Regions from separate parts of the Homo sapiens genome. Here region 1 is linked to region 2. Evidence: promoter capture Hi-C in human tissues and cell types (Jung and others, 2019). All regions are on one chromosome and are shown on one strand. The core of a region is centred on a gene start or on the middle of the fragment in contact, and the rest is flanking DNA. Distances in the headings are between cores, read along the strand shown. Region 1 overlaps EEF2 (eukaryotic translation elongation factor 2). Region 2 holds the start of UBXN6 (UBX domain protein 6).

Evidence for each region. The method cuts DNA at HindIII sites, captures the fragments that hold promoters and counts their contacts. A contact is called where the count stands out against the background at its distance.
Region 1: a contact is called between a fragment that was not itself captured here and the fragment with the promoter of UBXN6 in region 2, in 1 of the 25 tissues and cell types used here (dorsolateral prefrontal cortex).

What each region holds. Positions count from the first base shown.
Region 1 is chr19:3,978,644-3,982,731 of GRCh38, reverse strand. It overlaps EEF2 (eukaryotic translation elongation factor 2), which reads left to right. Exons shown (of 15, transcript NM_001961.4): 5 at 308-486; 6 at 680-785; 7 at 1,280-1,393; 8 at 1,753-1,891; 9 at 2,023-2,218; 10 at 2,666-2,924; 11 at 3,296-3,403. SNORD37 (small nucleolar RNA, C/D box 37) reads left to right here and starts at 160; the gene lies at 160-225. RefSeq lists an enhancer at 408-1,259. The HindIII fragment of the contact is 5,039 bases long and covers 1-4,088 here.
Region 2 is chr19:4,455,639-4,459,799 of GRCh38, reverse strand. It overlaps UBXN6 (UBX domain protein 6), which reads left to right and starts at 2,006. Exons shown (of 11, transcript NM_025241.3): 1 at 2,006-2,185. The coding sequence starts at 2,103. RefSeq lists an enhancer at 1,745-1,944 and silencers at 2,055-2,104, 2,135-2,204. The HindIII fragment of the contact is 9,046 bases long and covers 1-4,161 here.

The DNA.
Region 1 (4,088 bases), core at 1,268-3,767, 480 kb after region 2:
TGAGGGGGACTGGAAGTGTGTTTTTGCCAGGAATGTTGGGTGACAGAGAAGGGGGCTGGAATGTTTTCATCCGACTTGACCCAGCCCTTGATCTTTGGGCAGCTGGAAGAGACGAGCTCAGGGAACGCTGCCCTGGGTGGTGGAGGGGCTGGCCCCCCTATTCGTGATGACTGATCATTTCTTCACTTTGACCAGATGTCTACTGAAGAAAGCCTGCGTCTGAGGCCCATGCCCAAGGCGCCCAGCCCGTAGCTTCAGGCTCTGCGCAGGGGCCCTCACGGCTGCTTCTCGTTTCTCACACTTCCAGATCGATCCTGTCCTCGGTACCGTGGGCTTTGGGTCTGGCCTCCACGGGTGGGCCTTCACCCTGAAGCAGTTTGCCGAGATGTATGTGGCCAAGTTCGCCGCCAAGGGGGAGGGCCAGTTGGGGCCTGCCGAGCGGGCCAAGAAAGTAGAGGACATGATGAAGAAGCTGTGGGGTGACAGGTGAGCCCCGCGGGATATGGTGGGGGATTCCTGACACCTGGGGGTAGTGGCAGCGACGTAGGGGCGTGGTGTGCTATTCACAGCGTGGCTCAAGCCCACCAGGTCTTGCCCAAGCATGTCCCCTTGGCGACCACCCTCCCCAAGTCATCCCCTGGAGACCCTAACTTGATTTGGCTTGGCCTCTCCTTGCCAGGTACTTTGACCCAGCCAACGGCAAGTTCAGCAAGTCAGCCACCAGCCCCGAAGGGAAGAAGCTGCCACGCACCTTCTGCCAGCTGATCCTGGACCCCATCTTCAAGGTGAGTGAGGGCTGCGCCAGGCACCCCGCCGATGCGACTATTGGCCCTCGGCCCTGTGGGCTCCGGCCGGTAGCCTGTCGGCTGACTGGGCCCGTCTCCTTGTGGGGCAGATGCGAGATGGGAGGAGGCACAGCTCCTAACTGAGGTGGAGTCAGGGCTCCTCTCTTAAGATCTGGACTGCATAGCCAGAGCCTTGGGACCTCTCCTGCATTGAGGGGGTTGAATAACTTGTGGCTTTGGCGGTTCAGTGCTTGTAAGTCAGAACTTGGGTCCTTGTCTGAGTCAGAGTGGGCTTTTTCCTCTGCTCCACCACGAGGTTTCCTCCAGCTCCCGATCCGCTCAGCTGGCTGGGCCCGTGGTAGGCAGGCCAGGCCTGCTCCTGCTCCCGTGCTGCGTCCCCCTGCGCTGACCTGAGTCTTCCAAGCAGGAAGCAGTGCCAGGCTTCCTCCTGCTGTTCCCAAATGGGCTTTCTTGTTTCTTGGTGGGGAATGTAGGTGTTTGATGCGATCATGAATTTCAAGAAAGAGGAGACAGCAAAACTGATAGAGAAACTGGACATCAAACTGGACAGCGAGGACAAGGACAAAGAAGGCAAACCCCTGCTGAAGGTGCGGCCTGGGCCCAGCCCTCGGGGTGGAGGGAACACAGGCTGCTGTTTCCGGATGCTCTGACAGCCCAGGCCTGGGGGCTGAAGTCCTCAGCTGGGCAGGGACAGCTGCTGCCCCTTTCGCTTTAGACTCTGGGTGCTGCTGGAGACACATCCCAGCAGCCAGCCCCATCCGGGACAGGTGTGGGTGAGGGCCTTGGCAGGAGTGTGCATGGCCTTTGCCGCCTTCCAGAAGGGACTGTGCTTTGGAGAACGTTAGTCCTGACTTTGGCTTCCTTGGCTTCAAGAGAGGAAGCGTGTACGGGGTGGGGCCATCCTGGGCTCCCCAGGTGTCTCATGCACCGCTCTCTGCCCCCGCAGGCTGTGATGCGCCGCTGGCTGCCTGCCGGAGACGCCTTGTTGCAGATGATCACCATCCACCTGCCCTCCCCTGTGACGGCCCAGAAGTACCGCTGCGAGCTCCTGTACGAGGGGCCCCCGGACGACGAGGCTGCCATGGGTACGTGGTCCCGGTGGCCGGGCCCTGAGATGCAGCCGGATGACTTCCTGTTGCCCAAGGTTGTGGGTTGCAGGGTTCCAGAAGGCTGAGCTGCACTGGAATAAAGCTTGCGGGTTTTCTCTGTCCCTCAGGCATTAAAAGCTGTGACCCCAAAGGCCCTCTTATGATGTATATTTCCAAAATGGTGCCAACCTCCGACAAAGGTCGGTTCTACGCCTTTGGACGAGTCTTCTCGGGGCTGGTCTCCACTGGCCTGAAGGTCAGGATCATGGGGCCCAACTATACCCCTGGGAAGAAGGAGGACCTCTACCTGAAGCCAATCCAGAGGTGAGCAGCTGGGTGATGTGCAGGCCCCTTGGCACTGTTGCGGGCCCTGCCCTGCTCCAAGTCTTGGGCTCCTCAGTCGGGAGCTAGAAGTAAGGAGCATAGAAGGAATATAGGGTGATACTTGTGCCAGCCACAACTTTTGTTCTTAGCCCAGTGAGGGCATTTCTGGAGAAGCTCCAAGCCCCAGGGCACAGCACACCCCTGCTCATCTGTGTCCCTGGGCACAGGTGGGTGGCGGCCGTCGACCCATACCCAGGGAGGAGGGCAGTGATTCTGAAGAGGATGTTTCCTGACAGCCCCGACGCAGCAGTCAGGGCCTTGTGGAAGCCACCAGTCTGCCCTGGGACCTGGCAGGAGGGCCACCAACTCCGGGAGGGACCTGCCCTGGCCCTCCAGGGTCCAGCACAACCATCCCTGCGGCCTGCTGCCGCCTTCTGCTTCTTCCAGAACAATCTTGATGATGGGCCGCTACGTGGAGCCCATCGAGGATGTGCCTTGTGGGAACATTGTGGGCCTCGTGGGCGTGGACCAGTTCCTGGTGAAGACGGGCACCATCACCACCTTCGAGCACGCGCACAACATGCGGGTGATGAAGTTCAGCGTCAGCCCTGTTGTCAGAGTGGCCGTGGAGGCCAAGAACCCGGCTGACCTGCCCAAGCTGGTGGAGGGGCTGAAGCGGCTGGCCAAGTCCGACCCCATGGTGCAGGTGGGCACGGAGTGCACCTGCTGGGAGCAGACACCCTGAGGGGGGACGGCTTGTGTCCTGAGTTGTGGCTGTGTGGGTTGCTGTGGTTGGTGGATTGGGGTGACTGGTCATGAAAGGAGGGGTTCTTGGCTGTGGCTGTAAATGGAGACTCCTGCCCAGGCAGCCACCACCCTCTCCTAGGCTGCTCTGCGCGTGTTCACTGTAGCTTGTGGGACTTAACATTTCTTCAGGAGTTTGTGCTGGTCCCAGTTTCCCAGCACCTTCCCTGAAATCTTGTTCTGGCGGGGTCCCTAGCTAAAGGGAAGCTGGGAGCCTGGTCCCGCCTGTTCCGAGCCGCCTACCCCTTTGGTGCTGACCCGCATCCCTTTCAGTGCATCATCGAGGAGTCGGGAGAGCATATCATCGCGGGCGCCGGCGAGCTGCACCTGGAGATCTGCCTGAAGGACCTGGAGGAGGACCACGCCTGCATCCCCATCAAGGTGAGGCGCCAGTGACCAGCCTTCCCCACGCCCCACCCCGGACACCTGCCCTCTGCTTTAAAGCTGAGCTGAGCTAGGCTCTGCAGACGCCTAGACTTGATCTCGGTCTTGGTCTCAGCTTCTTAAGTTCCTCAAGTTTCTTCTTTGCAGTCTTCCACAGGCATGTGGGGCTGTTTTTGTTGTTGTTGTTGTTTTTTTTGAGATAGTCTCGCTGTGTCATCCAGGCTGGAGTGCAGTGGCGTGATCTTGGCTCGCTAGAACCTCCACCTCCCGGGTTCAAGCGATTCTCTTGCCTCACTCAGCTTCCTGAGTAACTGGGACTACAGGCGCGTGCTACCACGCCCGGCTAATTTTTTTTTGTATTTTTAGTAGAGGCGGGGTTTCACTGTGTTAGTAAGTCAAGATGGTCTCGATCTCCTGACCTCGTGATCCCCCTGCCTCGGCCTCCCAAAGTGCTGGGATTACAGGTGTGAGCCACCATGCCTGGCCCAGGGCTATTTTTTTTTTTTTTTTTTTTTTTTTTTTGAGACAAGAGTCTTGCTCTGTTGCTTAGGCTGGAGTGCAATGGCGTGATCTTGGCTCACTGCAAGCTCTGCTTCCCAGGTTCACGCCATTCTCCTGCCTCAGCCTCCTGTAGCTGGGACTTCAGGCGCCTGCCATCATGCCCGGCTAATTTTTTGCATTT
Region 2 (4,161 bases), core at 757-3,256:
ATGATCTCGGCTCACTGTAAGCTCTGCCTCCTGGGTTCACGCCATTCTCCTGCCTCAGCCTCCCAAGTAGCTGGGACTACAGGCGCCCGCCACCAAGGCTGGCTAATTTTTTTAAAAATTATTTTCAGTAAAGACAGGGTTTCACCGTATTAGCCGGGATGGTCTCAATCTCCTGACCTCGTGATCCACCCGCCTCGGCCTTCCAAAGGGCTGGGATTACAGGCATGAGCCACCGTGCCTGGCCTTTTTTTCTTTTTTTAATAAGACAGGGTCTGGCTCTGTTGCCCAGGCTGGAGTGCAGTGGCGTGATCCTAGCTTACTGCAGCCTCCAATTCCTGGGCTAAAGCAATCCTCCCACCTTGGCCTCCCAAAATGTTGGGACTGCAGGCCTGAGCCACCCGTCCAACCCATGATATTTCAATTTCAGTCTTGGGGTGGGCTGTTTCCTCACCTGGAGGCTTCTCCTCCATCAGTCTCTGTGTATCTCATTCCAACTCCTTCTTTTTTGAGGCAGAGTCTCCCTCTGTTGCCCAGGCTGAAGTGCAATGGCGAGATCTCGGCTCACTGCAACCTCCACCTGCCGGGTTCAAGCGATTCTCCTGCCTCAGCCTCCCGAGTAGCTGGGATTACCGGTGCCCATAGAGACAGGCTTTCACCATGTTGGCCAGGCTGGTCTCAAACTCCTGACCTCAAGTGATCCGCCGGCCTCGGCCTCCCAAAGTGCTGGGATTAGAGGCATGAGCCACCACGTCTGACCCCCAACTCCCATTTTTTGAGGCTTGTTTTAACTGTCACTTTGTGTATCTTCTTTGTGGATTGCACAGACCAAAGTACGCCACTATTAACTGGTGTCCACCAAAGTGGATCCCCAATCCCCAGGTCCCAATTGGGTGCATTGGGTGCATCCTCTTTTTTTTTTTTTTTTTTTTTTTTTGAGACGGAGTCTCGCTCTGTCGCCCAGGCTGGAGTGCAGTGGTGAGATCTCGGCTCACTGCAAGCTCCGCCTCGCGGGTTCACGCCATTCTCCTGCCTCAGCCTCCCGAGTAGCTGTGAGTACAGACGCCTGCCACCATGCCCGGCTAATTTTTTGTATTTTTAGTAGAGACGGGGTATCACCGTGTTAGCCAGGATGGTCTCGATCTCCTGACCTTGTGATCCGCCCGCTTCGGCCTCCCAAAGTGCTGGGATTACAGGCATGAGCCACCGCGCCCGGCCCAGGTGCATCCTCTTAAACAGCTCCTACCTAGGGTACGTGGTGATGGTGGCGGGGGGGTGCTTCAGGCACCAAAACAGGCCAGATCGTGGGGGCCTCCAATACCCAACATTGAATTGGGATTTTATCACGTAAGCTCTGGGGAGACAGAGAAGGTTGGAATTTTTTTTGTTTTGCTTGAGACAGGGTCTCTCTCTGTCGCCCAGGCTGGAATGCAGTGGCTTGATCACAGCTCACTGCAGCCTCGACCTCTTGGGTTCAAGCGATCCTCCCGCCTCTGCCTCCCAAGTAGCTGAGAGGCGCGCGCCACCACCCTCGGCTAATTTATTTTATTTTATTTTTTTTTTTTTTATAGAGACGAGGTTTTGCCATGTTGCCAGGCTGGTCTCCAACTTCTGGGATCAAGCAATCCTTCCGCTTGAGCCTCCAAAGTGCTGTGATTGCAGGCGTGAGCCACCGCGCCTAGTTTAGGTTGAGCAGCGAAAGGGATAGGGCCCAGTGCTTTCTCTGCGAGGTTCAGTTGGCCTGTCCCTGTCCTATCACCGTTTGTCACCGTTTGGGGAGCGCCACGGAATGCCCTGTCTCCAATCGAGAGGTGCACTCGTCGCCCTGGCAACGGAGTCCGGAAGAACCACAGAGACGCGGCTCCAGCGTACAGAGCGGCCGCCCTGGGCCAGCAAGGCACCGAGCGCTAGAGAGGCACGTCTAGTCGATTGTCACGTGGCAGGCCAGGGGAAGGCGGGACTTCCGGCGGCGAGGTAAATTTTTTTTTTTTTTTTTTTTTTTTTTTTAATTTTCTTCCGGTGGCTGGTCTCCGGCGGCCCCGTCCCCGACTGGGCCCCGTGCCCCCCCGCCCCCGCGGCCCCCCGCCGCCGGGCCAGCCGCCACCATGAAGAAATTCTTTCAGGAGTTCAAGGCCGACATCAAGTTCAAGAGCGCGGGACCCGGTCAGAAGCTCAAAGAGTCCGTGGGGTGCGTGAGGAACGCAGGGGCTTGAGGCCCTGCGGGGCGGGGACGGCCGGGGAGAGAGATCTGGGGCCTTGGGCGGCTCGGGAGATCGGAGAGGATGAGGGGCTGGGAGCGGCACGCGAGGGTCAGGGGAGGGGGAGAGGCGCCGGGGGCGGACGAAGTCGGGCCGAGGGTGGGCGTCAGGGGGAGGGGAGAGAGATCTGGGGGCGGGGCAGGAGGGGGCGGGTATGACCCGGGGGCGCGGCGGGGGAGGCGAGGGGAGGGGAACTAGCGCAGGGGGCGGGGCGGGAGGGGAGGTCTCGGGGGCGGGGCCGCAGGAGGGTCCGATGCAGTGGCGGGGGATTAGGGCGACGGGGCTGTAGGCAGTTGGGGGTCAGTGGAACGACCTTTGGGGAAAAACGGGATCATGAGTCCTGAGCCGGGTGGTGAGGGAGAGCTCTGTCTGGGGACCCGGCTGGCCGAAGAGGCCGGGATGATTTGGGGCAATCTAGGTGACCATGGATGGGAGCTGAGCTTGGAGGAGGACGCACAGCTGTGGGGTGGGGTGGTGAAGAGTTGTTTTGAGGTATCCATGGGAAGAGGGGTTCTGGATTTGGTATCTGGAGCACGTGGGAGGCTGATGGGAGACTAGAAAGAGTCTGGAAGGCCAGGGAGGCCGGGGTGGGCAGCGTCGTCAGTGACCTGGGATGTCCTGGCGAATTGAGAGGGAGGGGCTGAGGAAGGTGTGTGAGGAGAGTGGAGGTGAGGGATTCTGACAGATGGACTCTTACCCGGGAGGGGCCTGAGAGGAGAAGACGGGTGAGACAGACGCGTCTTAGCAGGCTGGGAGAAAGAGCTTCTCTGCGAGGCTTCTCTGCCACGTCACTGTGCCAAGTGGATTATGGAAGTGGGAGAGGAGGGGAAAGGAGATAGATGCCGGGCAGGCTTCCGGATTGTCTAGGGAGGACTTGGAGAGAAGGGCCTGAGCAGGGCTGAGCCAGCTGGGAGGGCCGGGGAAGAAGTGGAGCTAGGGAAGGTGCAAGGCTGAGGGCTGTTGGGTTGAGAAAAGGGAAACTGGAGAGCTGGGGCCGCTGCAGGGAGCTGGCTGGCCAGAGGGTGGTGGGGACTGATGGAGAGGGACTGAGGAAGTCAGCCAGGCAGCCAGGACACGGGTCTGTAAGCAATAGTGGAAGGGATTGTGAGGGAGTGGGGGCTGGGAGAGGCAGGGAGGTGGCAGGAAGTGGGGGTCAGGAATCACGGGGCAGTGGGGTGGTGATGGAGGTAGGGGCATAGTGAGGACGTCAGGGTTCCTGGGGGAGAGCAGGAGAGCAAAGGCTGAGTGAGGGAGGGAGAGGGGTCAGGGAGAGAAGGGGGCAAATCGGGGGAGCCCTTCATTGATTCAACCAATAGTGGGTGGGGGGTGCTGGGGCCACTGGGACTGGGCATGATAGGAAGGATGCAGGGTATCGGGGTGATGGCTGGATCAGCCCAGAGCCTGGGCGGAGAGGGGAAGGTTGGAGGGGAAGGTTGGGAAAGGAAGCGGTGCGGAGGTCCCTTGTGGAGCGAGACTGCATATCCAGGGTGTGTGGGGTGGGTGGGCACCAAGTCCTGTTTTAGGCTGCAGTGGTGGACAGGAGAAGGCCTCTGCTGTCCCAGGGCTCACCTTCTAGAGGGAGCCGATGGACAAATAAACCAACAGACCTTGGATGAGCGCTCAGGCGATGAGTGCTTGGATGAGTGCCCAGGGCCTCCAAGGAGGGTGAGCAGGGGCCGTCAGGTGGTTTGGGAAGGCCTCTCCCAGGACACAGTGAGACTCAGCTGTGGGGAAATCTGCCCCTCCTTCTCTCCCTGCGGCAGCTCTAGCCCTTTCCAGACCCCCATCCTCCTCCCACTCCCCCGGAGAACATTCTGGGCAGAAGGTGCAGACAGTGCAGGGGCCTGCAGTGGGGAGCAGCTGGGGTGTGGGAAGAACTGCGGGGAGCCCAGGGGAGACAGGCCAC